Linked DNA regions of Homo sapiens: regions 2, 3 and 4 are each linked to region 1. The links are contacts of gene promoters, found by promoter capture Hi-C in human tissues and cell types (Jung and others, 2019). All regions are on one chromosome and are shown on one strand. The core of a region is centred on a gene start or on the middle of the fragment in contact, and the rest is flanking DNA. Distances in the headings are between cores, read along the strand shown.

Region 1 (7,041 bases), core at 2,529-5,028:
CTTGGAGTGGAAGTAGAATGAAGGATTTTTTTTAGAGAGGTGGGGATATCTAAAGGTTTTTATGACGCACGGCTGTTTGCAGGCTCTAACTAAAGGACCATTGTTTATTTGATGTTGATTTAAGTAGTGGATCCTTAGAGATAGTGGTATGGCGGTCTTGAATTGTATCAAAAATCTTGGTTTTCTCTAGGCAATTTTTTGTTCCAATTCAGTTGAATACTCTTCAGTGGATTCAAACCATGAAAAAATAAGTCACCAGGGGAGGATAGCTGAAATAATTCCTAAGGCGGTGCCTGTTTTAATGGAGAAGATATGGGGTGGAGCCTGCGTTTTAAACAAACCCAGATCTGATGCAGGATGTACTTAACTACGTTGAGAAAAACTGATCTGCGCAATTGAGGCGTTACTGAAATATTAGGTGGTGGAGATTTGAGAATAAGGGTTTTCGTCTTTTACCTCATGGGAACTCTGGAAGTCCTTTTGTTAGGATAAATCCTAATAAGACCAAGATAGTACTGTAAAATGAAGTTTAATTATCATGGGTCCCCGCTTAAGAAACTGAAGAACTTATTTTCTTTTTTTGCCCCGGGGTGAATAATAATTGGTTTACTATTGCTTTAGGGGGAAACCTTAGATATTTTAATTTACCTTCTCTCTGGATAGTAGTGTTGTAAGAGAGCAGAAACCCATACTTGAAAATGTGCTTTTCTTTTTTGTTTTCTAGGATGGGTTTGTGGAGTTCTTCCATGTAGAGGACCTAGAAGGTGGCATCAGGAATGTGCTGCTGGCTTTTGCAGGTGTTGCTGGAGTAGGAGCTGGTTTGGCATATCTAATAAGATAGCCTTACTGTAAGTGCAATAGTTGACTTTTAACCAACCACCACCACCACCAAAACCAGTTTATGCAGTTGGACTCCAAGCTGTAACTTCCTAGAGTTGCACCCTAGCAACCTAGCCAGAAAAGCAAGTGGCAAGAGGATTATGGCTAACAAGAATAAATACATGGGAAGAGTGCTCCCCATTGATTGAAGAGTCACTGTCTGAAAGAAGCAAAGTTCAGTTTCAGCAACAAACAAACTTTGTTTGGGAAGCTATGGAGGAGGACTTTTAGATTTAGTGAAGATGGTAGGGTGGAAAGACTTAATTTCCTTGTTGAGAACAGGAAAGTGGCCAGTAGCCAGGCAAGTCATAGAATTGATTACCCGCCGAATTCATTAATTTACTGTAGTGTTAAGAGAAGCACTAAGAATGCCAGTGACCTGTGTAAAAGTTACAAGTAATAGAACTATGACTGTAAGCCTCAGTACTGTACAAGGGAAGCTTTTCCTCTCTCTAATTAGCTTTCCCAGTATACTTCTTAGAAAGTCCAAGTGTTCAGGACTTTTATACCTGTTATACTTTGGCTTGGTTTCCATGATTCTTACTTTATTAGCCTAGTTTATCACCAATAATACTTGACGGAAGGCTCAGTAATTAGTTATGAATATGGATATCCTCAATTCTTAAGACAGCTTGTAAATGTATTTGTAAAAATTGTATATATTTTTACAGAAAGTCTATTTCTTTGAAACGAAGGAAGTATCGAATTTACATTAGTTTTTTTCATACCCTTTTGAACTTTGCAACTTCCGTAATTAGGAACCTGTTTCTTACAGCTTTTCTATGCTAAACTTTGTTCTGTTCAGTTCTAGAGTGTATACAGAACGAATTGATGTGTAACTGTATGCAGACTGGTTGTAGTGGAACAAATCTGATAACTATGCAGGTTTAAATTTTCTTATCTGATTTTGGTAAGTATTCCTTAGGTTTTTCTTTGAAAACCTGGGATTGAGAGGTTGATGAATGGAAATTCTTTCACTTCATTATATGCAAGTTTTCAATAATTAGGTCTAAGTGGAGTTTTAAGGTTACTGATGACTTACAAATAATGGGCTCTGATTGGGCAATACTCATTTGAGTTCCTTCCATTTGACCTAATTTAACTGGTGAAATTTAAAGTGAATTCATGGGCTCATCTTTAAAGCTTTTACTAAAAGATTTTCAGCTGAATGGAACTCATTAGCTGTGTGCATATAAAAAGATCACATCAGGTGGATGGAGAGACATTTGATCCCTTGTTTGCTTAATAAATTATAAAATGATGGCTTGGAAAAGCAGGCTAGTCTAACCATGGTGCTATTATTAGGCTTGCTTGTTACACACACAGGTCTAAGCCTAGTATGTCAATAAAGCAAATACTTACTGTTTTGTTTCTATTAATGATTCCCAAACCTTGTTGCAAGTTTTTGCATTGGCATCTTTGGATTTCAGTCTTGATGTTTGTTCTATCAGACTTAACCTTTTATTTCCTGTCCTTCCTTGAAATTGCTGATTGTTCTGCTCCCTCTACAGATATTTATATCAATTCCTACAGCTTTCCCCTGCCATCCCTGAACTCTTTCTAGCCCTTTTAGATTTTGGCACTGTGAAACCCCTGCTGGAAACCTGAGTGACCCTCCCTCCCCACCAAGAGTCCACAGACCTTTCATCTTTCACGAACTTGATCCTGTTAGCAGGTGGTAATACCATGGGTGCTGTGACACTAACAGTCATTGAGAGGTGGGAGGAAGTCCCTTTTCCTTGGACTGGTATCTTTTCAACTATTGTTTTATCCTGTCTTTGGGGGCAATGTGTCAAAAGTCCCCTCAGGAATTTTCAGAGGAAAGAACATTTTATGAGGCTTTCTCTAAAGTTTCCTTTGTATAGGAGTATGCTCACTTAAATTTACAGAAAGAGGTGAGCTGTGTTAAACCTCAGAGTTTAAAAGCTACTGATAAACTGAAGAAAGTGTCTATATTGGAACTAGGGTCATTTGAAAGCTTCAGTCTCGGAACATGACCTTTAGTCTGTGGACTCCATTTAAAAATAGGTATGAATAAGATGACTAAGAATGTAATGGGGAAGAACTGCCCTGCCTGCCCATCTCAGAGCCATAAGGTCATCTTTGCTAGAGCTATTTTTACCTATGTATTTATCGTTCTTGATCATAAGCCGCTTATTTATATCATGTATCTCTAAGGACCTAAAAGCACTTTATGTAGTTTTTAATTAATCTTAAGATCTGGTTACGGTAACTAAAAAAGCCTGTCTGCCAAATCCAGTGGAAACAAGTGCATAGATGTGAATTGGTTTTTAGGGGCCCCACTTCCCAATTCATTAGGTATGACTGTGGAAATACAGACAAGGATCTTAGTTGATATTTTGGGCTTGGGGCAGTGAGGGCTTAGGACACCCCAAGTGGTTTGGGAAAGGAGGAGGGGAGTGGTGGGTTTATAGGGGGAGGAGGAGGCAGGTGGTCTAAGTGCTGACTGGCTACGTAGTTCGGGCAAATCCTCCAAAAGGGAAAGGGAGGATTTGCTTAGAAGGATGGCGCTCCCAGTGACTACTTTTTGACTTCTGTTTGTCTTACGCTTCTCTCAGGGAAAAACATGCAGTCCTCTAGTGTTTCATGTACATTCTGTGGGGGGTGAACACCTTGGTTCTGGTTAAACAGCTGTACTTTTGATAGCTGTGCCAGGAAGGGTTAGGACCAACTACAAATTAATGTTGGTTGTCAAATGTAGTGTGTTTCCCTAACTTTCTGTTTTTCCTGAGAAAAAAAAATAAATCTTTTATTCAAATACAGGGTGTGATATGGGTCTTTTCTCATCGACGCCTCTTTTTCCTTCCCTCTCTTAGGCAAACCTTTTAGAGAAGTCAGCTGAGCAAATATGTACAGGTGAATTCAAAGCAAAAGCCTCACAAAGTTGATTTGCCTTAGAGCAAAGGACAGTTCCTTTCTTCAATTCTAATTAGAGGTGTTGGGTTTTTAATTAAATATATTACTGCTGTACTTAGAGGAGTTCTTAAACCTCCAAGTAAAATCAAAAACCTCTTTAAAATCAAAATTTCTGTCTTGATTTATTTATTTATTATTTTTTTTTTGAGATGGAGTTTTGCTCTTGTTGTCCAGGCTGGAGTGCAATGGCACGATCTCCGCTCACCGCAACCTCCGCCTCCCAGGTTCAAATGATTCTCCTGCCTCAGCCTCCTGAGTAGCTGGGAATACAGGCATGCGCCACCACACCCAGATAATTTTGTATTTTTAGTAGAGATGGGGTTTCTCCGTGTTGGTCAGGCTGGTCTTGAACTCCCGACCTCAGGTGATCTGCCCACCTCTGCCTCCCAGAGTGCCAGGATTACAGGCGTGAGCCATCGCACCCAGCCTCTGTCTTGATTTTTTTGAATCACCAGGTGTTGGTATGTTTTGTTTTGTTTTGTTTTGAGGCACAGTCTCACTCTTTTGCCCAGGCTAGAGTGCAGTGGGGCAATCTCGGCTCACTGCAACCTCAGCCTCCCGAGTAGCTGGGATTACAGGTGCCCGCCACCATGCCCGGCTAATTTTTCTATTTTTGGTAGAGACGGGGTTTTGCCGTGTTGGTCAGGCTGGTCTTGAAGTCCTGACCTCAGTGATCCACTCGCCTCAGCCGAAGTGCTGCGATTACAGACCTGAGCCACTGCGCCCAGCCTTGATCTTGAGGTAAGAGGGTACTGTACAGCAGTTACTCTATCATAACACCTAAATAATACCTAAAGTTAAAGAGTTTTGATGAAGTTCTTGGCAGCAGTGCTTTTCCCCTTCTGCTTTCCAAAAGGAGGTAAAAAGAAGCCAGTCAATTTCAAAAACCCCTATCCTGCTTTTATTTTCAGCTACCTTGAAAGTGAGCTGAATCACCATGGAAATGTGCAAATGTGAGGTTTGCATACTTGGTTTTAAGCCCTGAGCACCATATGCTAATCAGGCAATCAGGATTCTGTGCCTCCCTGCAGTCAGTTGCATTTCTATTTAAAAGTGCATTTTGGTTTGGAAGCCCCTTTCTGGAGCCTAACTACCAAAAGGCAGCAACTTTTTGTATCATTACAAAGAAAGCTGTGTAAGTGCACTCCCAAGCAAAGGTGTGGTAGGAGAGTAGCAGCCACAGAGGACCCAAGCCCAAGTCTTGGCCTGAGTTAAGTTAGTGCTATTGCTCCCATTGACGTGCTATGATGTGAAGCCGTTTCTGGTACAGTGTTCCTTTGCTCAGCACCTTAAAAGCTTGGATTTAATAGTAACTGGGTAACCTTAATCAGTAGTCAGAATTATCAACACTTTGCTTTATTTGACACAACCAGACTTTCTCAGTTCCTGTTCTGTATCTAGAGCAACGTCTTCATACTGTTTTTTCACAAAATTTTTATTTAAAACAGTTGTGACAGCCGAAGGATTTTTTTTTTTTTTTTTACAAAATTAAAATGAAATAACTTGTACAACTGGTGCGTACCATGGCTCCAGCCAGATGCCCAAAGCACTGGCTATTAATTCCTGGAGTTCAGATGGTCAGTTGAGTCTATCCTAGTTTTTTGCTTCACTTGTTCAATCATGGAACTTTCTAGAACGCTGCCACTCTTCAAAGGCTTCTCAATTTCAAATTTGAAAACTTAATTCTCTCCCTCTTAGTTTCAAAGTTGTTACAGTGTTATCTATGTGAAGTATGTGGAAAGTTGGGGGCTGGGGATTTTCCTCCAGGCAGATTAAGAAACAGCTCTCCGGGTCGGGCGCTGTGGCTCAGGCCTGTAATCCCAGCACTTTGGGAGGCTGAGGCAGGAGAATCGCTCGAACCCGGGAGGCGGAGGTTGCAGTGAGCTGAGATCATGCCATTGCACTCCGGGGCCTGGGCGACAGAGCCAGACGCTGTCTCAAAAAAAAAAAAAAAAAAAAGGCACGGTGACTCACACCTGTAATCCCAGCACTTTGGGAGGCCAAGGTGGAGGGATCATGAGGTCAGGAGTTTGAGGCCAGTCTGGCCAATACAGTGAAACCCCATCTCTACTAAAAATAAAAAAAATTAACTGGGCATGGTGGCGGGCGCCTGTAATCCCAGCTACTTGGGAGGCTGAGGCAGGAGAACCACGTGAACCTGGGAGGAACCCCGGAGGTGGAGGTTGCAGTGAGCCGAGATCGTGCCACTGCACTTAAGCCCAGGTGACAGTGTGAGACTCTGTCTCAAACAAAATAAATACCTCTCTAGTGAGGTGGCTCACGCCTGTAATCCCAGCACTTTGGGAGGCCAAGGCGGGCTGATCACTTGAGGACAGAAGTTTGAGACCAGCCTGGCCAACACGGTTAAACGCCACTACTGGTGGCGGGCACTAGTAGTCCCAGCTATTCAGGAGGCTGAGGCAGGAGAATTGCTTGAACCCAGGAGGTGGAGGTTGCAGTGAGCCAAGATCATGCCACTGCACTCCAGTCTGGGTGACAGAGCGAGACTTCCTCTCAAAAAAAAAAAAAAAAAGGCCAGGGGCGGTGGCTTATGCCTGTAATCCCAGCACTTTGGGAGCCCAAGGCGGGCAGATCACCCGAAGTCAGGAATTTGAGACCAGCTTGGCCAACATGGTGAAACCCCGTCTCTACTAAAAATACAAAAATTAGCTGGGTATGGGGTCACGCGCCTGTAGTCCCAGATTGCAGTGAGCCAAAATCACACCACTGCACTCCAGCCTGGCGACAGAGCGAGACTCCATCTCAAAAAAAAACACCTCCGAAAATTTGGTGTCCTTTACTAATAATTCTTGGGAAGTAGAAAAAGGATATACGTAGCAAGCTTTTGTTCCCACACTATACTTGGTTTCTAATTTGCAGTTCCCTTCTTGACCTGCATAGAATAATAGTTATTTTCCATTGGGAAATGAGAAATCTTCAACATTGAGGTAAGTTAGGATTTTTTTTTTTTTAAGAGGTGGGGTCTCACTCTATTGCCCAGGCTGCAGTGCAGTGGGACTATCACGGTTCACTGCAACCTTGAACTCCTGTGCTCAAGCAATACTCCCACCTCAACCTCCAAAGTAGCTGGTACTACAGGTACCTCACCATGCCTTGTGTTTTGTTTTGTTTTGTTCATAGAGATGGGGTCTTGCTATATTGCCCAGGCTTGTCTATTTAGCAGGAGCTCTAGGCAGCCAGATGTTGAGAGTGTCTTCATTTTTC
Region 2 (7,041 bases), core at 2,287-4,786, 620 kb before region 1:
ACTAGCTGGGACTACAGGCACCCGCCACCATGCCTGGGTAATTTTTATATTTTCAGTAGAGATGGGGTTTCACCATACTGGCCACGCTGGTCTCGAACTACTGACCTTGTGATCTACCCGCCTCGGCCTCCCAAAGTACTGGGATTATAGGCGTGAGCCATGGCACCTGGCCAATAATTATATCTCTTAATCTTCTACGACCTTAAAAGATAGGTATTATTATCAGTCCCACTTTGCAGATGAGAAAACTGAGATTCAGAGAAGTAAAGCAACTTGTCCAAAGTCATACAGCTAAAAGACCTTAAAGTTCACACTCAAATTCAGGTCTGGCTGGCTCTAAAGCTGTGTTCTCTTTTTGTTGTTGTTTTATTTTATTTTAATTTTTAATTGGCACATAATTGTACATATTTATGGGGCACATAGTGATGTTTCAATACATAAAATGTTTAGTGATCAGATCAGGATAATTAGTATATCTGTCATCTAAAAAATGTATCATTTATTTATTTATTTATTTTGAGATGGTGTCTCGCTCTGTCATCCAAGCTGGAGTGCAGTGGCACGACGTTGGCTCACTACAACCTCCACCTCCCGGTTTCAAGTGATTCTCATGTCTCAGCCTCCTAAGTAGCTGGAACTACAGGCACCTGCCACCACTCCTGGCCAATTTGCGTACTTTTTAGTAAAGACAAGGTTTCACCATGTCAGTCAGGCTTGTCTTGAACTACCGACCTCAAATAATCTGCCCACCTTAACCTCCCAAAGTGCTGGGATTACAGGCGTGAGCCACCGTGCCTGGCCTCACAAATATATAATTTATTTGTCTCCAGCACAAACATTCAATATCCTTCTTCTAGCTATTTGAAAATATTATTGTTAATCATAGTTATCCCCCAGTGATATAGAACACTAGAATTTTTTTTTTTTTTTTTGAGATGGAGTCTCACTCTTGTTGCCCAGGCTAGAGTGCAATGGTGCGATCTTGGTTCACTGCAACCTCCGCCTCCGGGGTTCAAGTGATTCTCCTGCCTCTGCCTCCTAGTAGGTGGGATTACAGGCACCCGCCAACGTGCTCGGCTAATTTTTGTATTTTTAGTAGAGATGGGGTTTCGCCATGTTGGCCAGGCTAGTCTCAAACTCCTGATCTAAGGTGATCTGCCCACTTCAGCCTCCCAAAGTTTTGGGATTACAGGTGTGAGCCACCACACCCGGCCAAGAACACTAGAATTTATTCCTCCTATCTAAATGTAATTTGGGGCCAAGCGAGGTGGCTCACACCTGTAATCCCAGCACATTGAGAGGCTGAGGAGTGGGGATCACTTGAGCTCAGGTGATCACCGTGGGCAACATGATGAAATCTCATCTCCACAAAAAGTACAAAAAATTAGCCAGGCGTGGTGACACGAGCCTGTAGTTCCAGCTACCCACGAGGCTGAGGTGCGATGATCACTTGAACCCAGGAGGTCGAGACTGCAGTGAGCAGTGATTGCATCACTGTATTCCAGCCTGGGTGACAAAGTGAGATCCTATCTCAAACAAACAAACAAACGAACAAACAAATGTAATTGGGGGCCAGTGTGGTGGCTCACAGCTGTAATCCTAGCACTTTTGGAAGCCAAGGTGGGAGGACAGCTTGAGCCCAGGAGGTCAAGGAGGCAGTGAGCCATGATCCTGCTGCTGCACTCCAGCCTGGGCAATAGAGACCCTGTCTCAAAAAAAATTGTAATTTTGTGTCTTTTTTTTTTTTCTTTTGAGATGGAGTCTTGCTCTGTTGCCAGGCTGGAGTGCAGTGGCACAATCTCAGCTCACTGCAACCTCTGCCTCCCGGGTTCAAGCGATTCTCCTGCCTCAGCCTCCCTAGTAGCTGGGACTACAGGTGCGCGCCACCACACCCAGCTAATTTTTGTATTTGTAGTAGATACGGGGTTTCACCATGTTGGCCAGGATGGTCACAATCTCTTGACCTCGGGATCTGCCCGCTTCAGCCTCCCAAAGTGCTGGGATTACAGGTGTGAGCCACTGTGCCAGGCCCAATTTTGTCTTTTTTTTTTTTCTGAGACGGAGTCTTGCTCTGTTTCCCAGGCTGGAGAGCAAATGGCGCGATCTCGGCTCACTGCAACCTCCGCCTCCCGAGTTCAAGCAATTCTCTGCCTCAGCCTCTCGAGTATCTGGGATAACAGGCGCCCACCACCACGACCAGCTAATTTTTGTATTTTTAGTAGAGATGGGGTTTCGCCATCTTGGCCAGGCTGGTCGTGAACTCCTGACCTCATGATCCACCCCCTTCGGCCTCCCAAAGTGCTGGGATTACAGGTGTGAGCCACAATTTTGTGTCTTTTAACAAATCTTTCCCTGTCCCTTCCTTCCCCCTGCTCTTCCCAGCCTCCAGTATCCTCTGTTCTTTCACTTCTATGAAATCAACTTTTTAAAAGCGTCACATATGAGTGAGAACATGCAGTGTTTTAACTTTCTGTTCGTGGCTTAAGTCAGTTAACATGTCCTCCAGTTCCATCCATGTTGCTGCAAATGACAGGATTTTCTTCTTTTTAATGGCTGAAAAGTATTCCATTGTGTATATACACCCTATTTCCTTTATTCATCTGTTGTTGGACACAGAGATTGATTTCCTATTTTGGCTACTCTAAGTAGTGCTGCAATAAATATGGGGGTGCATAAATATGGAGTGCAGACGTCTCTTGGATATACTGATTTCCTTTTTTTTTTTCCTCCTAAATTGGCTTCCTCAGGTTGAATTATGTCCTTTCCTTTGGATAAATGTCTATGGCTGTGTTTTTAACCACAATACTATGCTTCCTTCCTCAAGGATTTTTGACTTTATCTTGTAGATGATGTGGAGCCATTAAAAATGTTTGAGGACAGGAGTGGCAAAACGTGGGTTTTTAGAAAGTTTCCTACTAGCAGCAGTGTAGAAAATGGACTGGAGCGGAGAGAATGACCTCTTCTAAAAGAAAATGTGAGCTGGGGGCGCAGGCTTATGCCTGTAATCCCAGCACTTTGGGAGGCCGAAGCGGGCGGATCACCTGAGGTCAGGAGTTCGAGACCAGCCTGGCCAACACGGTGAAAGCTGTCTCTACTAAAAATACAAAAATTAGTTGGGCATGGTGGCGGGCGCCTGTAATCCCAGCTACTCGGGGGACTGAGGCAGGAGAATCGCTTCAGCCCGGGGGACGGAGGTTGCAGTGAGCCGAGATCGTGCCACTGCACTCCAGTCTGGCGACAGAGCGAGGCGAGACTCCGTCCCTACGGAAAAAAAAAACCATATATATATATAAAATAAAAATAAATAAAATAAAATGTGTTGACTTAGGGTTATGGGGGTCTTCGTACCACCAAGTGGACTCATTGAGCAAGGGAGATCGCTGGGTACTAGAGCAAGCGGCCTAGAGCATCCGCGCAGGAGTAGGAGAGGCTGAAGAGTAAAGAGGGTTTAGAGGGTGGGACTGGGAGTCTCTCGACACTCTGTTACTTCTGCCTGTAAACGCCCGACTTCCGCCGCTGGTGGCCACCCGCAGGTAGTGATGTCGAGCGTCGAGCTCCCAAAACCGAGCTGGTGAGGGGCTGCAGGTGGCGGCGCAGTCTCGGTAGGCGGTATGAGTTTGGCTGGGGGCCGGGCACCCCGGAAGACCGCTGGGAACCGGCTTTCTGGGCTTTTGGAGGCAGAGGAGGAAGATGAGTTCTACCAGACGACTTATGGGGGTTTCACAGAGGCAAGATCCGGGCCTGGGAAAAGGGAGGGGAGGAGGCAAAGAGGAGCCCTGAAGGGAGAAACCCCGGACAAAGAAGAAGAGGGCGGGGAATAGAGAGGAGCTCTGGGAGCTGATACTCGAGTTGGGTGGGTGAATCGGAGCCGGGGGGCGAGGCGGGGGAACGGATAGTGTGGAGTCCTAGAAGGGAGAGCTCTGGATGGGGTCAAAGGGGCCTGAGACGGAGAAGCTCTCCGGAGGCACTCCAGAGAACAGAGAACGGCAGAAACCTACCGTATACTTGCGTGGTTGCATCTTTCACTGTACTTCTGACGTCCAGCATACACGAGGCACACACATAGTAGTAGACAGTTGCTCGATGTATACTCGTTGGCCCACTGCTGGATTATTCACCTGAGACATGGAAAGGAACCGCTCCAAAAGTAGAGGAGCTTAGCCCACTTCTTTTTCAGCTTTCAGGTCTCAGTGTAAATGTTTTCTCAGGAAGATAACCCTTCCTTGACTATCCTAACAAGTGTCCCCATTTATTTCTTCCACAGAACATATTTCAATTTGCAATTAGATTTGGTTTGCTTACTTGCTTATGCTTTTCTATTGCATTGTAAACTGTATAAAGTTAGAGATGGTCTGTTTTGTTCAACATTATGTGTGAGGTGTCCGGACTGGGCTGCCACTTGCTAAATTTTTATTAGTTGAATCTACCCGTTTATTAAATGTGTTGAGTACCCAGAGCATGCCATCGGTAATAGGTTGTTTTAGGCTCTAGGGAAACAGAATATTAAAAACAGTGCTCTGTCCTTACATACTCCATGCCCCAGTGGGGTAACTGCCTGGGTTAACAGTTAAAATACTGTGTGATAGGCCGAGCACAGTGGCTTTGGCCGGGCACAGTGGCTCACGCCTGTAATCCCAGCACTTTGGAAGGCCGAGGCGGGTGGATCACAAGGTCAGGAAATCGAGACCATCCTGGCCAACATGGTAAAACCCCCTGTCTCTATTAAAATACAAAAATTAGCCAAGCGTGGTGGTGTGCGCCTATAGTCCCAGCTACTCAGGAGGCTGAGGCAGAGAATCGCTTGAACCTGGGAGGAGGAGGTTGCAGTGAGCCGAGATCGTACCACTGCACTCCAGCCTGGGCGACAGAGCAGGACTCCGTCTCAAAAACAAACAAAAAATGTGTGATAAGGACTAAAACAAGGTGTAAGAGTGTTAAGGTAATACATCTGAACCAAAGTTGTTGATCAGGATAGGCATCCCTGGAGGGATGATGTTTAAGCTGAGGACAGTTTGAAAAGTAGACCTTAGCTTGATGAAAAGCAGGAGAAGGAGAAAGGTTAGTCCACAGAGCAGGATGGGCTGAGTATGTAAAGACATTGAGATCCTGGTCTAGGACCTGCAAGTCTACTTTCATTCTCCAGAGCATGAAGGAGACTAAAGATTGATAAGCCTGCAGGGAGTAGGCATGGGCCAGATCCTTTAGGGCCTTGTGAGCTATGTTAAGGAATTTTGCTCTTCATCCAGAGGACTGAGAAGAGTCATCAGAATTCCACGATGAAATTTGTACTTTAGGAAGGTTACTTACTCTGTAATGAGAATGGCTTGAAGGGGGCATGGCAGTAGAGAAACAGAAAGATTCAAGAGAAATTAAGGAATAGAACCCACAGGACTTAGGGGCTGGGTGTGGTGGCTCACGCCTGTAATTCCAGCACTTTGGGAGGCTGAGGCGGGTGGATCACGAGGTCAGGAGTTCGAGACCAGCCTGACCAACATGGTGAAACCCTGTCACTACTAAAAATGCAAAAAATTAGCTGGTTGTGGTGGCGTGTGCCTGTAATTCCAGCTACTTAGGAGGCTGAGGCAGGAGAATCACTTGAACCCAGGAGGCAGAGGTTGCAGTGGATTGCGCCACTGCCCTCCAGCCTGGGCGACAGAGTGAGACTCTGTCTCAAAAAAAAAAAAAACCCACATCACTGACAGAGTCATTACTGACACAGCCCTAACCAACTAGTTTAAAATAGAACTTTCTCATCCCTCCTCTAAGGCCATTTTCCTATTTCTGTCATTTTACGACTTGTTATTTAATATGTACCCTTCATGCTTCCAAAAAGGATTTAAGGAGGCTTACAATATAAACAAAAAGTAGGAACAGTAAAAATAGAGACAGATCAGAAGTAATTGTACCAGGAACCTCTGCTAAAATGGTAATAGCAATTGATATTAAATTTAGTTGTGAGCTTCCTGGTAGCCAAACCTTGTATTTCTTTTTTTAGTAAGAAAGAAGCATACAAGTTCTTCAAGAGACACAAACTTTTTCAGCCTTAAATCCTAGGGAGCATTTATCATTATATCCTTATATTATAAAAAGTAATGGTTTTCATAGATGATATACAAACATTCTCTTTTCTAGTGATGTCTCTTAATGACTCTCAATAAAAGCCGAAGGAATGGTAGTAAATCCTTAATTTAGTGCAAGTATGTTGATTGGGCACTAAGCTAATGTGTGGTTGATCTACTACCCTCTGGTGATATGGCTTAATACCAGATTAAAGCTGAGGGGATTAATGTGTTCCCAGGCTGTCTTTTACAAACATCAGTTAGGAGGAAATGATGGTCATCAGTGCAAAATTGAACTCTGGCTGGCTTGGAGTGTCAGCCATCTGTGTTATTTGCTTGCTTTGGCATCATGTGTACCAAGATTAGCCCATTAGTCTGCATCACTGATTGAAGAGAGAACCACATATGTGAGGTGTCAGCCAGCCCAGTTGACTCCCTCTCCCTCAAGTGGCTTTTTTCCCTTTTCTTTATAATATGGCTGCCATTCTAGCCCTAACCAGTTCACCTGAGGTCTAGGCTGTACTTCACGTTCTCTACTCCAGGCCATCTAACTGCCCCCAGAGCTTTCTGAAATACCCATTGTACATACCATTACCCCTCCCCTAAATCTTCAGTGGCCCTCCATTATCCATAGTAGCAGTACTCAGCTGTTTTTCTGTCCCAACACGCCTGAGGAATGACACATATTTCTCTCAGTAACTTTAGTTTACCTCAACAATGATTATCAATGGTAGGGAAAATAAGGAGATGGAGGGGATTGAGAATCACTGGCCTGCAGGTTAAAAGCGTGTTTATTAGTGTGACATTTAAGTTTCTCCATAAATGGAATGCAACCTTCTTTTCAAATCATACAGTCCTACAGTGCAATCAGTGTTGGAAGGAGGCAGTGCTGGAGCCAAATGCAGTTGGCTAACAAGGTTTCTTGACAGAGAAAAGTTTTACTTAGATCTAAATCCTTATTCCATAAACATGCTATACACAT
Region 3 (7,041 bases), core at 603-3,102, 590 kb before region 1:
GGGAAAGGCTAGCTTAAAATTTTACAAGTTTTTTTTAATCTTAAGACTTTGTATAGTTTTTAAAACTGTTATTCTTCAAGTAGAATTACAAAGTGCCATTTCCCAAACTTTATTTAAAAATCACAAAATTCTCCTTTTCTTTTTCTTTCTTTTCTTTTTTTTTTGAGATGGAGTCTCACTCTGTCACCCAGGCTGGAGTGAAGTGGTGTGACCGTGGCTCACTGCAACCTCTGTCTCCCGGATTCAAGCAATTCTCCTGCCTCAGCCTCTTGAGTAGCTGGGATTACAGGCACACACCACACACCCAGCTAATTTTTTACATTTTTGGTAGAGACAGGATTTCACCATGTTGGCCAGGCTGGTCTTGAACTCCTGACCTCAAGTGATCCACCCACCTCAGCCTCCAAAAGTGCTGGGATTACAGGCGTGAGTCACCGCGCCCAGCCAAAATTCTCCTTTTCTTGAAACACTAAGTAACATCTCCAGAACACTAGTATTCCTCAGAATACACACTGGAAAACTCTTTTAGAGCCATCTGTCTCCTTCTGAGCCTTCCTACCTCTGGCTTTCCCGTCCCATACCTGTACTTCCGGCGGCAGCAACTGTTATAGTGGGGAGCTCTGTGCAGAGCACTCTGGGTGATAAGTCGTGTCTGAGTTAGCAGAGGAGCCTGGTAAGGAGATGGGAGACAGAGTCAGAGCCTTCAGCCCTCCGCCCTTCCAGCCTGGTGTGTGCAGCAGGGTCTTGCCTAGAACACACTCTCCACTCTCTGATTACCTCAGCTTTGGTTTCTTCCCTTCTCAATTCATTCTGATGTTTTGGATTCTGCTTTCTTTCCTTTCCCGGCTGCTTCTTGCCATAGAAAAGCTGCAAGCCTGAGGAGAAAGGGAAACAGAATTAAAAGCATAGCACCAAGAGTGGTGTGCAGAGATTTCGAGGGTTTATTCCCCATCCCGTCTTCCCCCTAACTTACTGGACAGATGTTTCTTGCCTGCACGGTGGGCAGTCAGCATGGCCAGGGTGTCCAGTACCGGTCGATGGGGGCAGATGGCACAAGCAAAGCTGAGCAGGGGTAGAGAAGAGGATAAGTGGTCCAGGGGAAGAGGGTTGGGCCCGTCCCTGCCATAGGTCCCACCCTGTCCTAGCAGTCTTTGCAAAACCCAACTCCCTGGTGACCCAATCTCCACTTCTTCCAGTCCTCACTGGCCGCCAAAGAATCCTAGGTACTCCTGCTGTCCTAATTAATAACAAAAGTTTGTTGAAGCCAGGCGTGGTGGCATGCGCTTGTAAACCCAGCTAATCGCGACGCTGAGGAGGCAGGATCACTTGAGCCCTAGAGTTCGAGGGCAGCCTGGGCAGCACCGCGAGACCTCCGTCTCAAAGGAAAAAAAAAAAAAAGTCTATTGAGCCTCTAACCGCAGAACCCTCAGGCTTGAGCCACTCCTTGCTCTTACCGTCCATCCCGAAGCATCAGCGCCTCATCCTCTGGAATGTAACTGGCTAGGAGGTCCCCGACTCTTCTTTTCTGCAGGGAGTAGGGGAAGAAATCCGGACGGGATCAGCGGGATAGGAGAGAGGGGTGGAAGTGAAATTATAGAAATGAGGAGTGAAATGGAATAAGGACCCTGGGGAGAACAGCGATCATAGACCGAAAAAGGAGTCACTACACAGCTCTAAGTCGCCTGGTTCTCTCCTGCACCCCCGAGTTGTTGCCAGAGCAATGAAACAAAGCTCCTTCCCAACCTTCAGGGAGCGACTGAAGCGGCTCCAGATCCTCTCCGCTCACGCTTACTTTGAGCACATTGAGTTGACTCCAATCGTCTCCTTCCCTCTTGAAAGACATCACGACTGTGAGTCCCAGAAGTGATAAATTCTCTGTTCCGGTTTCGCCACTCCTCCAGGCCACCGTAGCAAGAGCGGGACAGCGCCTTCTCTTTTTTCCTTCTCTTCCTGTCGGCCTCCGTACTTCCGGGGACGCACTTCCACGCATGCATTGCGCGATCCGGAAATCCACTCTCTGGTGCTCGGAGGGAACTGCATTTCCTATGGTGCCCTGCGACTCCGCAGACGCGGAGCCTTTTGGGAAATGAAGTCTTTTCTCAAAGACCTTGCCGCTCAACTGGATCCAGGCCCTTGCATCTTGGCGGATCTGAGGCGTTTGGAGGGACAACAACCTAGATGTGGAGCCGAAATTTGAGGGTGTGACCTATCTTATGCGGAGCGGACCTTTGAGGATCTCTGAGTGGAAGGTGTACTACAAATTCTTGCAATCCTCACGCTCTTCGTCTGCGGCGACAGTTCACCTGGGGTGGGCCTGATTTGTTCCTGACTCTAGCAAACAAACCCCGGGACCGGGGAGAGCTGGGATGTTGGAGCGCCCTGAGGCCAGGCTACTTGGGGGCAAACTGAGGAAAGAGTGTTGAGGATTATTTCTAGAGTTCAAAGGTCAGAGGTCAATGTAGCGAGGAGTTGTGGGGGAGTCCAAAGTCGGAGGGGTGCTTAGGGGAGAATTAGGGAGGGACTGAATACTCAAGGGACAGATTTGTGGATAAGTAGCTTGGAGGGAGGAGAAACCGGGAGGGGGCAGATGGCGTAGTGCTGGGGAGGCGGGGACACAGGGGAAGAGAGAGGGGGAAAGGAATCCCCTGAATATTCATTCCCAGACTTCAGGCCTGTCAGTCGCAGTCTCGGTCGTACCTCCCCTAGTTGCAACCTTAGCTGTTGGCAGGGTGAAGAGATGGCTTCCCCGTCTAGACAGCCCCCGCCAGGGGGGTCAGGACTGCTTCAAGGGAGCCGGGCTCGTTCATATGGAAGCCTGGTGCAATCGGCCTGCTCCCCAGTGAGGGAAAGACGCCTGGAGCATCAGTTGGAGCCCGGAGACACCCTGGCTGGACTAGCACTCAAATATGGGGTGACGGTGAGTTTTCCAGGATTGGGGTGAAGACAACAGTCAGGAGGGATTTAGTCCTGAGAAGAATGTAGTGGCCCTTCTAGGTAACCTCCCCTGAAATGTTCCTAATGTGTTGCACTCTGTTCTGCCTTTATCTTTGTTTTCCCATCACAGTGTTGCACAAGTCCTGCCCTACTATTCCAACGGAGAGGAACAGCTCCTATTTTATTATGCCAGACACTGTGCTGAGGGCTTCACATACGTTAGCTCATTTCACCCTCACATCTGTATCAAGTATACATTTATCGTTCCCTTTTGGCAGATGAAGAAACTGAGACTTGGATTGGTTAACCAGTTTGGCTAAGGTCAAATAATGAGCGTCAGATTTGGGATTCAAACAGGTCTGTCTGACTCTATTAACCACACAGAAAATTTTATGTTGAGAGTGATTAAACGTTTACAGCAACTAATGGAGAGCTGATTTTTAGTTCTCAGTTCCTAAAGTGCCCACCTCTCCTTGCTCTTGGTTCCTCCTCAATGCTCTGCCTTCTTTCCAGTAAGGTGGCCTCCTTTGTGCAAAACAGGTACTCTACACCAAGTATTTCAGGTCATGCATGGGGGAAATTGGATAGATGTAAAAATGTACAGCATTGAAGTTGATGGGGTTACTCCCCCTATCCCTGCCCCTGTTTTCTTGTTCCATCTCACTCAAACAAATGTTGAATTTAGCCAACATTTTTATGCTTGCTGTATTTAAAGCACTGTGATAACTTTTCTGGGAGATAGAAACTTAAACTATATGGTTGCTGTCCTCATGTAATTTATGGCCTAATGAGAAATGAACAGGGACACAAATAATGATTACAAGTGACAGAATGTGGTGAGTTTGTAAAGGTATTAACAACGAATAGGGGTCAGGCATGGTGGCTCACCCCTGTAATCCCAGCACTTTGGGAGGCAGAGGCAAGTGGATCACCTAAGGTTACGAGTACGAGACCAGTCTGGCCAACATGGTGAAACCCTGTCTCTACTAAAAATACAAAAATTAGCCGGGCGTGGTGGTGCTCACCTGTAATCCCAGCTACTCAGGAGGCTGAGGCGGGAGAATCGCTTGAACCCAGGAGGGGGAGGTTGCGATGAGCTGAGATCGCACCACTGCACTCCAGCACTCCAGCCTGGGCAACAGAGTGAGACACACACACACACACACACACACACACACACACAAAGATAGGAAATCAGAAAAGATTAAATTTCAGTTGGAAAGGGGCTGTGGTGGGCCAGGCGTGGTGGCTCATGCCTGTAATCCCAGCACTTTGGGAGGCTGAGGTGGGTGGATTGCTTGAGCTCGGGAGTACAGGACCATTCTGGGCAATGTGGTGAAACCCCATCTCTACAACAAATACAAAAATTAGCCGGGCATGGTGGCATGTGCCTGTAATCCCACCTACTGGGGAGGCTGAGGCAGAGGATCACTTGAGCTGGGGAAGCGGAGGTTTCAGTGAGCCGAGATCGCGCCACTACACTCCAGGCTGGGCGACAGAGTGAGACCTTGTCTCCAAAAAAAGAAAGAAAGAAAGAAAGAAAATACGAATACACTATATCTGTAGTTTCTATATTTCATTATCTAATTATGATAATAATTACATAATTATAAGTAATAGTTTTTAAATAAAGCATTAATGAGCCCCTGCTATGTGTCAAGGTCTGTAGGATGCTAATGACTTCCTGGGGATACAGAGACAGCAAGTCACAATCCTTGCCCTTAAAGGACTTATAGGGTTTAGGCAAAGCAGATATTTAAAGAGGTGAATAATATTATAGTAGGGTTATGTATTATTATAGCAATATTTACAGTATGCATTGGGAGCCCTGAAGAAGGTAGCACAAAGGGAGTGATAGTTGATGAATACAAGTTTTCCAAGCAGAGAATGGGATAGTAGGGGGGTGGGAGCATTTCAGGCAGAAGTAACAGCATGAATAAAGTGTGAAAAAGATCATGGAATGTTCAAAGAAAAATAAAAAGTTCAGGATAGCAAAATGTAGAGGTGGCAGAGGGAGATTAATCTAGACATTTCCTTTGGGAGCTGGATTGAGAAAGCCCTTGAATGCTAATTTGGTTTTTATCTTTTAGCCAGTGCGGAGCCATAGGTGGGTAGTGGGTTAATCAGATTTATTTTTTTAGAAAGATAGATGCCAAGAGGAGGATGAGTAGAAATAGAGCGAGGAAGGCCAGTTAAACTGTTGCAATAACCCCAGATGAGAAATACTGAGGGTCTATTTTAAATCTTTGGCAGTAGGAAGGTGAGACCAGATGTGAGAGAGATTTTTGAAGCAGTTTTGTTGACCACTTGGTATGGTGATGAAAGGCAAGTATTAGTTAAGGATGACATTGATGTTTCTACCTTGGGAGGCCAGGCAGATAGATGGTGATGCCAGTCACTATGTCCAGTGATGAATAAATAGGTCAAAATAAATATTTATTAATGACATTGTTAATAGTATAGTGTGAAAAGCATTCTCAGAAGCAGTGAAAAGACCCAGGATTGTCATTCTAGCTCTGTCATTAACTTGATAGATAATTTTAGGAAAGTAGCTTAACCTCTCTGAGCCTCAGTTCCTTCATTTTTATTTATTCATTAATTTATTTATTCATTTATTTTTAATTTTTTAATTTTTAGAAATGGCGTCTCACTATATTACTCAGGCTGGACTCTAATTCCCGGGCTCAAGCTATCCTCCCTCCTCAGCCTCCTGAGTAGCTGGAATTATAGGCATCAGACATTGCGCCTGGCTTGCACAATAATTTTTTAAAATGTAAGGGGGCCCTAAGACCAAAAAGTGTGAAAACCACTCATCTATAGAATAGAAATAATGTCAGCCCTTTGTACTTTAGCTTGGTTGTTATGGAATCAAAGAAGACTCTGTACAGTCACTTTAAAAAGCTCAAGATGTAAGATTGATCATTATTACTGTCCTTAATTTTGGTGACTTTTTTTTTTAAGATGGAACAGATTAAACGTGCAAACCGCCTTTATACTAATGACTCCATCTTCCTGAAGAAAACCCTCTACATCCCCATCCTGACAGAGCCCAGAGACCTGTTCAATGGTTTGGACTCTGAGGAAGAGAAAGATGGAGAGGAAAAAGTACACCCAAGTAACAGTGAAGTTTGGCCACACTCAACTGAGAGGAAGAAACAAGAGACAGGAGCAGGACGTGCCAATGGTGAAGTCCTCCCCACACCTGGCCAGGAAACCCCCACGCCCATCCATGACCTCTCTGCCTCTGATTTCCTTAAGAAGCTTGATTCACAGATCAGCCTGTCCAAGAAGGCTGCTGCTCAGAAGCTGAAAAAAGGGGAAAATGGGTGAGTCTTGAATGGTTCCTTATAAGTTCCTCCCTAGACTCCTCCATCATTCCTGTCTTACCTAACCACAAACACAAGTAAGTAAGGACAGTGCCAACAGAGGCAAGGTGATACCTTTCCCCCATGTGGCCCCAAGATAATGAGCAGAGGTGATGGCTGCTGGCCTGGGTAGAGGCAGTGGAAAACTGGGTTCTGTGTTCTTATTGGAGTCAGACAGTTAACTATTTTTTTTTTTTTTTGAGACGGGGTCTTGCTCTGTTGCCCAGGCTGGAGTGCAGTGGCGCGATCTTGGCTCACTGCAAGCTCCGCCTCCCAGGTTCACGCCATTCTCCTGCCTCAGCCTCCCGAGTAGCTGGGACTACAGGCGCCCGCCACCACGCCCGGCTAATATTTTGTATTTTTAGTAGAGGCGGGGTTTCACCATGTTAGCCAGGATGATCTCAATCTCCTGACCTCGTGATCCGCCAGCCTCGGCCTCCCAAAGTGCTGGAATTACAGGCGTGAGCCACAGCGGCCAGCTGACAGTTAACTGTTTTTACTGCTCTGATCATCCATGAAGGAGCATTAGGGTTAGGATTTATCTAGAGGGTACTGAGACTGTCTTGAAGCAACCAGCTTATGTATTAGAAGATAGCTTTCCATGTACCTCTCACTTGGCCCATTGTCAGGTTCTTCCCTTGATCTGTCACTCTTTCCCCCCTTTCCTCAATTGCAGGGTACCTGGGGAGGATGCAGGTCTCCACCTGAGCTCCCCTTGGATGCAGCAACGAGCAGTCCTAGG
Region 4 (7,041 bases), core at 3,833-6,332, 570 kb before region 1:
GGTGATCTGCCCACCTTAGCCTCCCAAAGTGCTGGGATTATAGGTGTGAGCCACTGCGCCTGGCTACTTCCTGTCTTTAGACTAAGTGGTAAACATGAAAAATCCAAATGGAAGTATCCAATAAGCAATTGTATACATGAGTCTAGAACTCAGGAGAAAGACCTGAGTTGAACACCTAGATTTTATGGTAAGCAACATATAAACAGTTTATTGTGGCCGGGCGCAGTGGCTCACACCTGTAATCCCAGCACTTTGGGAGGCCCAGGCGGGCGGATCATGAGGTCAGAAGATCGAGACCATCCTGGCTAACACGGTGAAACCCTGTGTCTACTGAAAATACAAAAAAAAAAAAAAAATTAGCTGGGCATGGTGGCAGGTGCCTGTAGTCCCAGCTACTCTGGAGGCTGAGGCAGGAGAATGGTGTGAACCCGGGAGGCGGAACTTGCAGTGAGCCGAGTGAGCCACTGCACTCTAGCCTAGGTGACAGAGGGAGACTCATCTCAAAACAAAACAAAACAAAACAGTTTATTGTAACTGTTGGTTTTGTAACTGTTCTCATTGTCGGATTATCTTGACCAATGAGAATGGGTAGAGAAGAAAGAGGTGGCTAAGGACATGACCATAGGGAACACCAGCATTTAGAGAGGTCAGAGAAGGCTAAGAAAGGTCATATTAGGCTGGGTGTGGTGGCTCACACCTGTAATCCCAACACTTTGGAGGCTGAGGTGGGCAGATCGCTTGAGGTCAGGAGTTCGAGACCAGCCTGGCCAACATGGCGAAACCCTGTCTCTACTAAAAATATAAAAATTAGCTGGGCGTGGTGGTGGGCGCCTGTAATCCCAGCTACTCGGGAGGCTGAGATGGAGAAGCGCTTGAACCCAGGAGGTGGAGGTTGCAGTGAGTGAGCCAAGATTATGCTACTGCACTCCAGCCTGGGGCGACAGAGTGAGTCTCTGTCTCAAAAAAAAAAAAAAAAGAAAAGAAAAGAAAAGAAAAGCCATATTAATAGAAGTGAAACTATCCATTCATTAAAAATACATATTTATTAAGCCCCTAGTCTTTGTTAAGAGAAAGAGGGACCTCAGGAGCCAAAAGAAGAAAGCATTTCAAGGAGGGGGGAGTCAACAGGTCAAATGGCACAGAGAGGGCAAAAGGATAAAGACTGAAGAGTTGTTCATTGAATGTGACCAGGAGGTCGTTGGTGGCCTTAATGAGAGCAATCTCAGTGGACTGATGGGGACAAAAACTAAAATGATTGAGAATGAGAATCATGAAAATGGATATAGCAAGTATAGGTAACTCTAGAAGCTTAGTTATGAAGGGAAGAGAAATCGAGTGATGACTGGGTGCAGACAAGGATCAAGAGAAAGTTTGGAATGTTTTCCTTTTAATCATGGGAATTACTTGAGCATGTGTATATGCTAAGGGGAAAATATCAGTAGAAAAGGACAGGTTAAGACTGGGAATGGTGGCTGACGCCGGTAATCCCAGCAGTTCGAGAGGCCGAGGCAGGAGAATCACTTGAGCCTAGGAGTTCAAGACCAGCCTGGGCAACACAATGAGACTCTGCCTCTATTTTTTTTTTAAGTTAATACTTTCTGTGTGCAGGCACTATGCTACAAGGAAAGGATACAGTGTTGAGCAAGATAGACAACCAGGGACTGCATACAACTTACAGTAAAGTCATAGGTGAACCTTCGACAGGTGATACGGATGGCATTCACTAGGATGAGAGAGACATGATGCAGGTAAGTATATCTGTAGGGAGCAAAAAGTTGGTGGAATTCTCACTTTATTATCTCTGTTTTCTCTGAAGACGGATGAGGGTTTTCCTGAGATGAACAAGGAAATGGTAAGGAAAGGAACTTGCAAAAAAAGGAGGAAGTTTGAAATATCTCCCTGGGGATTGGAAGAGAGTGCTTTTCCAATCCAATCTGTGGGACTGTGTGATTTCCTTTTTTTGAGATGGAGTCTCGCTCTGTTGCCCAGGCTGGAGTGCAGTGGTGCGATCTCGGCTCACTGCAAGCTCCGCCTCCTGGGTTCAAGCAATTCTCCTGCCTCAGCCTCCCCAGTAGTTGGGACTACAGGCGCACACCGCCACGCCCGGCTAATTCTTTTTATTTTAGTAGAGACGGGGTTTCACTGTTGTTGCCCAGGCTGGTCTCGAACTCCTGAGCTCAGGCAATCCACCCGCCTCAGCCTCCCAAAGTGCTAGGATTACAGGCCTGAGTCACTGCGCCCGGCCAGGACTGTGTGATTTTCTTCAAAACACTAAGGGAGTAGGAAGAGAGGTTTTTTATTTTTATTTTTATTTTTTTAAGAGTCTCCCTCTGTGTCACCCAGGCTGGAGTGCAGTGGCACGATCTTGGCTCACTGCAATCTCCTGTCACCTGAGTTCAAGCAATTCCCCTGCCTCAGCCTCCTGAGTAGCTGGGATTGCAGGTGCCCATCACCACACCCGGCTAATTTTTTTTTGTATTTTTAGCAGAGCTGGAGTTTCTCCATGTTGGCCAGGCTGGTCTCAGAACTCCTGACCTCAGGTGATCTGCCCACTTCGGCCTCCCAAAGTGCTGGGATTACAGGGGTGAGCCACCTCGCCCAGCCAAGAGAGTCATTTTGATTTGTCCTTCAAAATAGCTCTCAGATTCATGTATTTCTTTCTAAATCTGTTCCCATCACCCTTGTCTGATTGTCCCTCTCCCCTCACCTTTAAACCTTGTTTACTTGCTAGTAGGTCTCTGTCTTCTTGCTTAAAAAAATAAAAAAATACAAGTTGCACCCTTTTTCAAGAATTTAAAATGACGTCCTACTCCTGTCAGATGATTTTAACCAGCTCACCTAGTCATTCCAGGCCTTCTGTAATTTGTCTTCCCCTTTTCCCTCCCCTTGCTCCTAACTAGTGCCTTTCCCACACACCAGCCTCACAGGACCTTTTTTTTATCCATGCTGCAGGCTCCTTGCTAACCAAGTAAAAGCTTTTGCTGAAGCTGTGTCCCTCGGGAACATTTTCTTCTTTTGCACCAAGCCAACTCCCACCAAAGTTTTCCTGTCCTTCATGATAAAATGTATCCAGCATCTTTCTGTGCAGTCTTCGGAGAATATTTATTGTCTTCTTTGCACATTTGGAAATTTATGTTCAATGTAGCTTTTCTTTTGAGACTTGGTGTTGTCTTTTTAATAGTTTAGTACTATTAAATATTTAATATTTAGTACTGTCTTTTTAATAGTTTAGACTTTTTAATAGTTTAGTATGTGCAAATCTTATTTTAATTCAAATATATTATCATTTTCTTAAAGTCTGGAACCACAACCCACAGTGGATTGTGTAGTAGATTGTGTCTCAAGTAAGTGTTTAATACTTACTGGATTGAACTGAGATTTGAGCTGGGTCCTAAAACTTTAAATGAATTACACCTTAATCCCCACTCACTAATCTATTCCATAAGCATGTATCTGAGTACCTAAACCCTGTGCTAGGAGCTGAGGAGATTTCTTTTAACCTCTCAGTGCCTCTGTATTTTGAGGTGTCTTTCTCTGAAAATTTCTTTCCAGCCTTTAAAACAACCCCAACTGTCTGACAGTTTGTTGAATTGCCTTGGACCCAAGATCCCTCGGCCGTTAATTCTGTGTAGATATTGTCCCTGTTTATCTTCTTCTATTTTTTTTAGATCTGACTTTACTGAGTTACTGTTCATCTTACTGGTTCACCTGGCCTTAAATCTGTCTCTCTGTCTCTCTCTTTCTCTGTATGTGCGTGTGCACATGTGTGTGTATGTTTAGGTCTCTTGTGTACTCGCTGTGGGGCTTAGCCTAGTTGTTGATACTCCCCTCCCTGATCACAGTCCAGTTAAGGCTGGCCTAAAGTGGCAAACCCCTTCCCCCTCCTTTCCTCTAGTCCAGAGTCCAAGATGTGGGTAGAAGTGTTCAGTCAGATAAAACTATCTGAGAATGCCAGTGTCTCCCAGGCCACCCACTTTCCTGGAGAATTTTGAGAATGTCTTTTGTCCCAGCCCCACATAGAGAAGAATCCTACCAGGCAATACCAAGGTACCAAGCAATCCTGTCTGTAGTAGTTTATTCTTCCTCCTCACTGACATTCCCAGGGGCTTTATGAAGGGTGGGGAGGGAGAAGGGGCAGTTTTGCTGTTTGGAGGGATGTCACGGTCCTCTGAGGAAAGGTGGGACGTATGTCTGTGGGGCAGGAAGGCTGTGTGGGTTACTTTATCAAGTCTTAGCGTTGCTACTCTTTGTGCCTTTCTCTGAGTCAGTTAGTCTTGATTTCCACATCTGTTTTGGCTTCAGCCTCTCTCACCTGCCCTCTTCCATTACCCAACAGCCTGACTGCTAGCTAGTTCTTGCCATAGTGGCCCAAACTCATGCTGCTTTGTAGAGGTGGGAGGGGAGGAGATCATGGAAACAAGGGAAACCTCCTGCTGACACCTTCCTTTCCTTTCCCAGGCCTCCAGCCCCCACGCGCATGCTAGGCCTCCTTATCCGGGTCAGGACGAACCAGAGGAGGCCTACGGGGAGAAATAAGGAGACAGAGGGACAACGCATAGAGAGGAGCAACAGAGAGTTGGGGGCAGAGTCAGGGAGATGCGGGATGCGCCCTCGGGAGCAAGGTCGCCCAAGCCGTATAGGAGGGGAAGGGAGGACGGATCGCGCAGGCTCTGACAGCCCAGCCCAGCCCCGCGAGGCTCCCAGGTTTCCTGTCTGTTTCTCCTCCCAGCTCCTCTTCCTCTCTTGGGAAATTTCTCCCCAGAGCCTCTCCTGTGCCAGCCTGTCTCTGCTTCTGTATGTATTTCTTCCTCTGCCCGGTGTCGGCGACTGTCCGTGGGTCTCTCCATCTCGCGTCTGTCTCTGGTCTCCAGTTCAGCCTCCCGGCCTGGCCCTCTGGGTGGACGGTGCTCCTGGCGCCCCTCCCCGGGCAGCACTATTGGCGGAGAGGTGACGAGAAGGCGGTGTCTAGCCGCCCTCCGAGGGCGGGATTAGTCGCGGCGACCCAAAGGCGGGCAGGAGGTGGGCCCGGCTGGGAGGCGGGCGGGGCCACTGGGGCCGAGCCCAGAGCCCCGGGCGGTCGCATTGTTTTCCTCCGCGGATCCGCGGCTGGACTTGGACCCAGGGCTCTCCCGACAGCGCCCTGGAACCCAAATTCAAGCACCATCCAATTCGGACGCTCATCGCATCTCGCCTGAGCACAACCACGGATTGCGAACTCAGCGCAGCGCGTGGCCGCTGGCCGCCCGCGGCGATCTCGATCCCGCTGACCCGAATCCTGGAGCAAGTACCCCGGGCAGGGAAGGGGCTGCGGGGAGGCGGGGAGGGAGCAGGAGGGCGCGGCCGGCGGGGGGCAAGCTTCTGAAGCGCTAGGGGACCAGGGAGGTGTCGGCGCCCGGTGTGCCTGGCTGACGGAGAGGGTCAACGAAATTGGGGTGCAGGGAGGAAGGAGGGACAGTGGCCGAGCCCCGTAACTGTACTGGTGAGAGCAGAGTCTGGGCACCTCGTTCAATTGGGCTTTCGTCGAGTCGCATCCCGCTGGACTGGGAAGCGCGAAAAGGGATTATTTGAGGCGCGCTCCGTAGAGAGCGTGGAAAACCTGGCCCCTTGCTTTCCCAGCAAGGAAACTAGGGCTCCGAGACCCACGGAGAACTAGACCCTCCTGACGCCCCTGAAGGGATGGGAAGAGGGACGCATCGTTCCGGACTTTGTGTCACGGGTGCTCCTCTGTCCTTGTGCAAGCCGGAATCTGAGCACCCTCTGAAGGGTTGGCTCGTGCAAAGAGGCGGCGAATGGGGCCCTCGAGCAACATCGGTCCCAGCGCCTATCTCCTTCCTTCAGCCCGCTCGGCCCGGGGCTTTGTTAGACTGAGGTCTCCCAAGGAGGACATCCGAGCTGGCAACTGCCTCCTGAGCCCACGGTCCCCACTGAGCGCCGGCCTCAGGCCCGCCCTCGTCGGTTCTCAGCCTCTGGCCCTGTTTCCCTGGCCTGGGAGACCCGCCTCCGCTCCCCAACCCCCGCTCCTATCCCCTCTTCGTCTGCGCCTGCAGGCCCCTCCAGCCCCTCCTCTCGCTAACGTGGCTCTGGGACCCGGTCCCGGCCCAGACTCTGCTACCGGCCCCTCCTCGGAGCCCCGGATCCGGTGAGGGGGAGACAGGTCGAGCCCCTGGCCCTAGGCCCACCTCTTTTCGAGGCTTTAGACACCTGGATTGTCCTGGTTGGGGGTTGGGTGGGAAGGAGGGTAGGTGCTGAGTGTGGGGCTAAGAGCTAAGAGTGGGGGAAATGGCTTGGAGAAAGGAAAGCTCCGGTTCCACAGGCTCCTTGGCGCGACCCTGCTCCCTCTGAGGAAGGTGGACTGGGGCGGGCGACCAGCCCAAAGGCTTCCTGCTATTGTCCCCAGCCCAGTCTCCCCTTCTCCATCCCTTCCACAGCTCTCCTAGACTCTGGCTGTGACCCCAGCCATTCCCCAGAGGTGGCTTCGGGGCCAGGAGAGAGAAGGGCTGTTTCCTCTTCCCAGCAACGGGAGGATCTGGAAAGGGGAGAGTCGGCCAGGTCTCTCCCATGTGCTTCAGATGGGGTGTGTGAAGCAGCTCGGATTCTTCCAGGGCAGAGTGATCTTTTCTCCAGGCCAGGAGTTGAGGAGCTGACCAGATGCTGCTTCCCAGAAACAGCTACAAGAAGCCCTCTTAAAGGTGTATCATAGTTGAGTCTAGAAGGCCAATGCAAAGGCCAGCCAAGTGTTTGTAGAGGCTGGACTAATCCAGCCTAAAGTGGGGTGTGAGTGTGTGTGTGTGTAGACTGAGTGGAAGGGAGGCACAGCCTGCTCTCTCAGGGAGGAAGGAAAGGGTTGAGGGTGCTTGCTATCAGATCATTTTGCCTGGAAATGAAGAGCATGTAAATGAGATGCAAATTAGCCTCTATTGTCCCTAGCTAAGGCGCTTTTGCTAAGAAGGCTGTTGGATTCTGAGGGCCTTAACATGGGAGTGGTCGCCATGCCCCACAAACTCTCCCAGTGACCCCCTTTGCCAAGGCTAGCCCTGTAGT

Evidence for each region. The method cuts DNA at HindIII sites, captures the fragments that hold promoters and counts their contacts. A contact is called where the count stands out against the background at its distance.
Region 2: the fragment with the promoter of VPS72 here is called in contact with a fragment that was not itself captured in region 1 in 1 of the 25 tissues and cell types used here (dorsolateral prefrontal cortex).
Region 3: the fragment with the promoter of SCNM1 here is called in contact with a fragment that was not itself captured in region 1 in 1 of the 25 tissues and cell types used here (spleen).
Region 4: a contact is called between the fragment with the promoter of SEMA6C here and a fragment that was not itself captured in region 1, in 1 of the 25 tissues and cell types used here (dorsolateral prefrontal cortex).

The regions. Positions count from the first base shown.
Region 1 is chr1:150,571,175-150,578,215 of GRCh38, reverse strand. It overlaps MCL1 (MCL1 apoptosis regulator, BCL2 family member), which reads left to right. Exons shown (of 3, transcript NM_021960.5): 3 at 725-3,658. The coding sequence ends at 841. ADAMTSL4-AS1 (ADAMTSL4 antisense RNA 1) reads left to right here and starts at 3,664. Exons shown (of 4, transcript NR_104133.1): 1 at 3,664-4,092; 2 at 4,395-4,557. RefSeq lists enhancers at 1-188, 1-348. The HindIII fragment of the contact is 4,214 bases long and covers 1,672-5,885 here.
Region 2 is chr1:151,186,692-151,193,732 of GRCh38, reverse strand. VPS72 (vacuolar protein sorting 72 homolog) reads left to right here and starts at 3,536. Exons shown (of 6, transcript NM_005997.3): 1 at 3,536-3,728. The coding sequence starts at 3,612. RefSeq lists enhancers at 3,392-3,451, 3,492-3,561. The HindIII fragment of the contact is 20,238 bases long and covers 1-7,041 here.
Region 3 is chr1:151,160,955-151,167,995 of GRCh38, reverse strand. It overlaps SCNM1 (sodium channel modifier 1), which reads right to left and starts at 1,852. Exons shown (of 7, transcript NM_024041.4): 1 at 1,793-1,852; 2 at 1,455-1,525; 3 at 974-1,062; 4 at 778-875; 5 at 582-670. The coding sequence starts at 1,843. TNFAIP8L2-SCNM1 (TNFAIP8L2-SCNM1 readthrough) reads right to left here. Exons shown (of 7, transcript NR_144937.2): 2 at 1,455-1,525; 3 at 974-1,062; 4 at 778-875; 5 at 582-670. It overlaps LYSMD1 (LysM domain containing 1), which reads left to right and starts at 2,094. Exons shown (of 3, transcript NM_212551.5): 1 at 2,094-2,917; 2 at 5,896-6,260; 3 at 6,976-7,041. The coding sequence starts at 2,738. RefSeq lists enhancers at 1,804-1,853, 1,200-1,906, 1,874-2,153, 1,907-2,612. The HindIII fragment of the contact is 12,820 bases long and covers 1-7,041 here.
Region 4 is chr1:151,144,672-151,151,712 of GRCh38, reverse strand. It overlaps SEMA6C (semaphorin 6C), which reads left to right and starts at 5,082. Exons shown (of 19, transcript NM_030913.6): 1 at 5,082-5,280. It also overlaps a transcript of LYSMD1 not described here. RefSeq lists silencers at 4,605-4,664, 4,875-5,334. The HindIII fragment of the contact is 4,441 bases long and covers 2,143-6,583 here.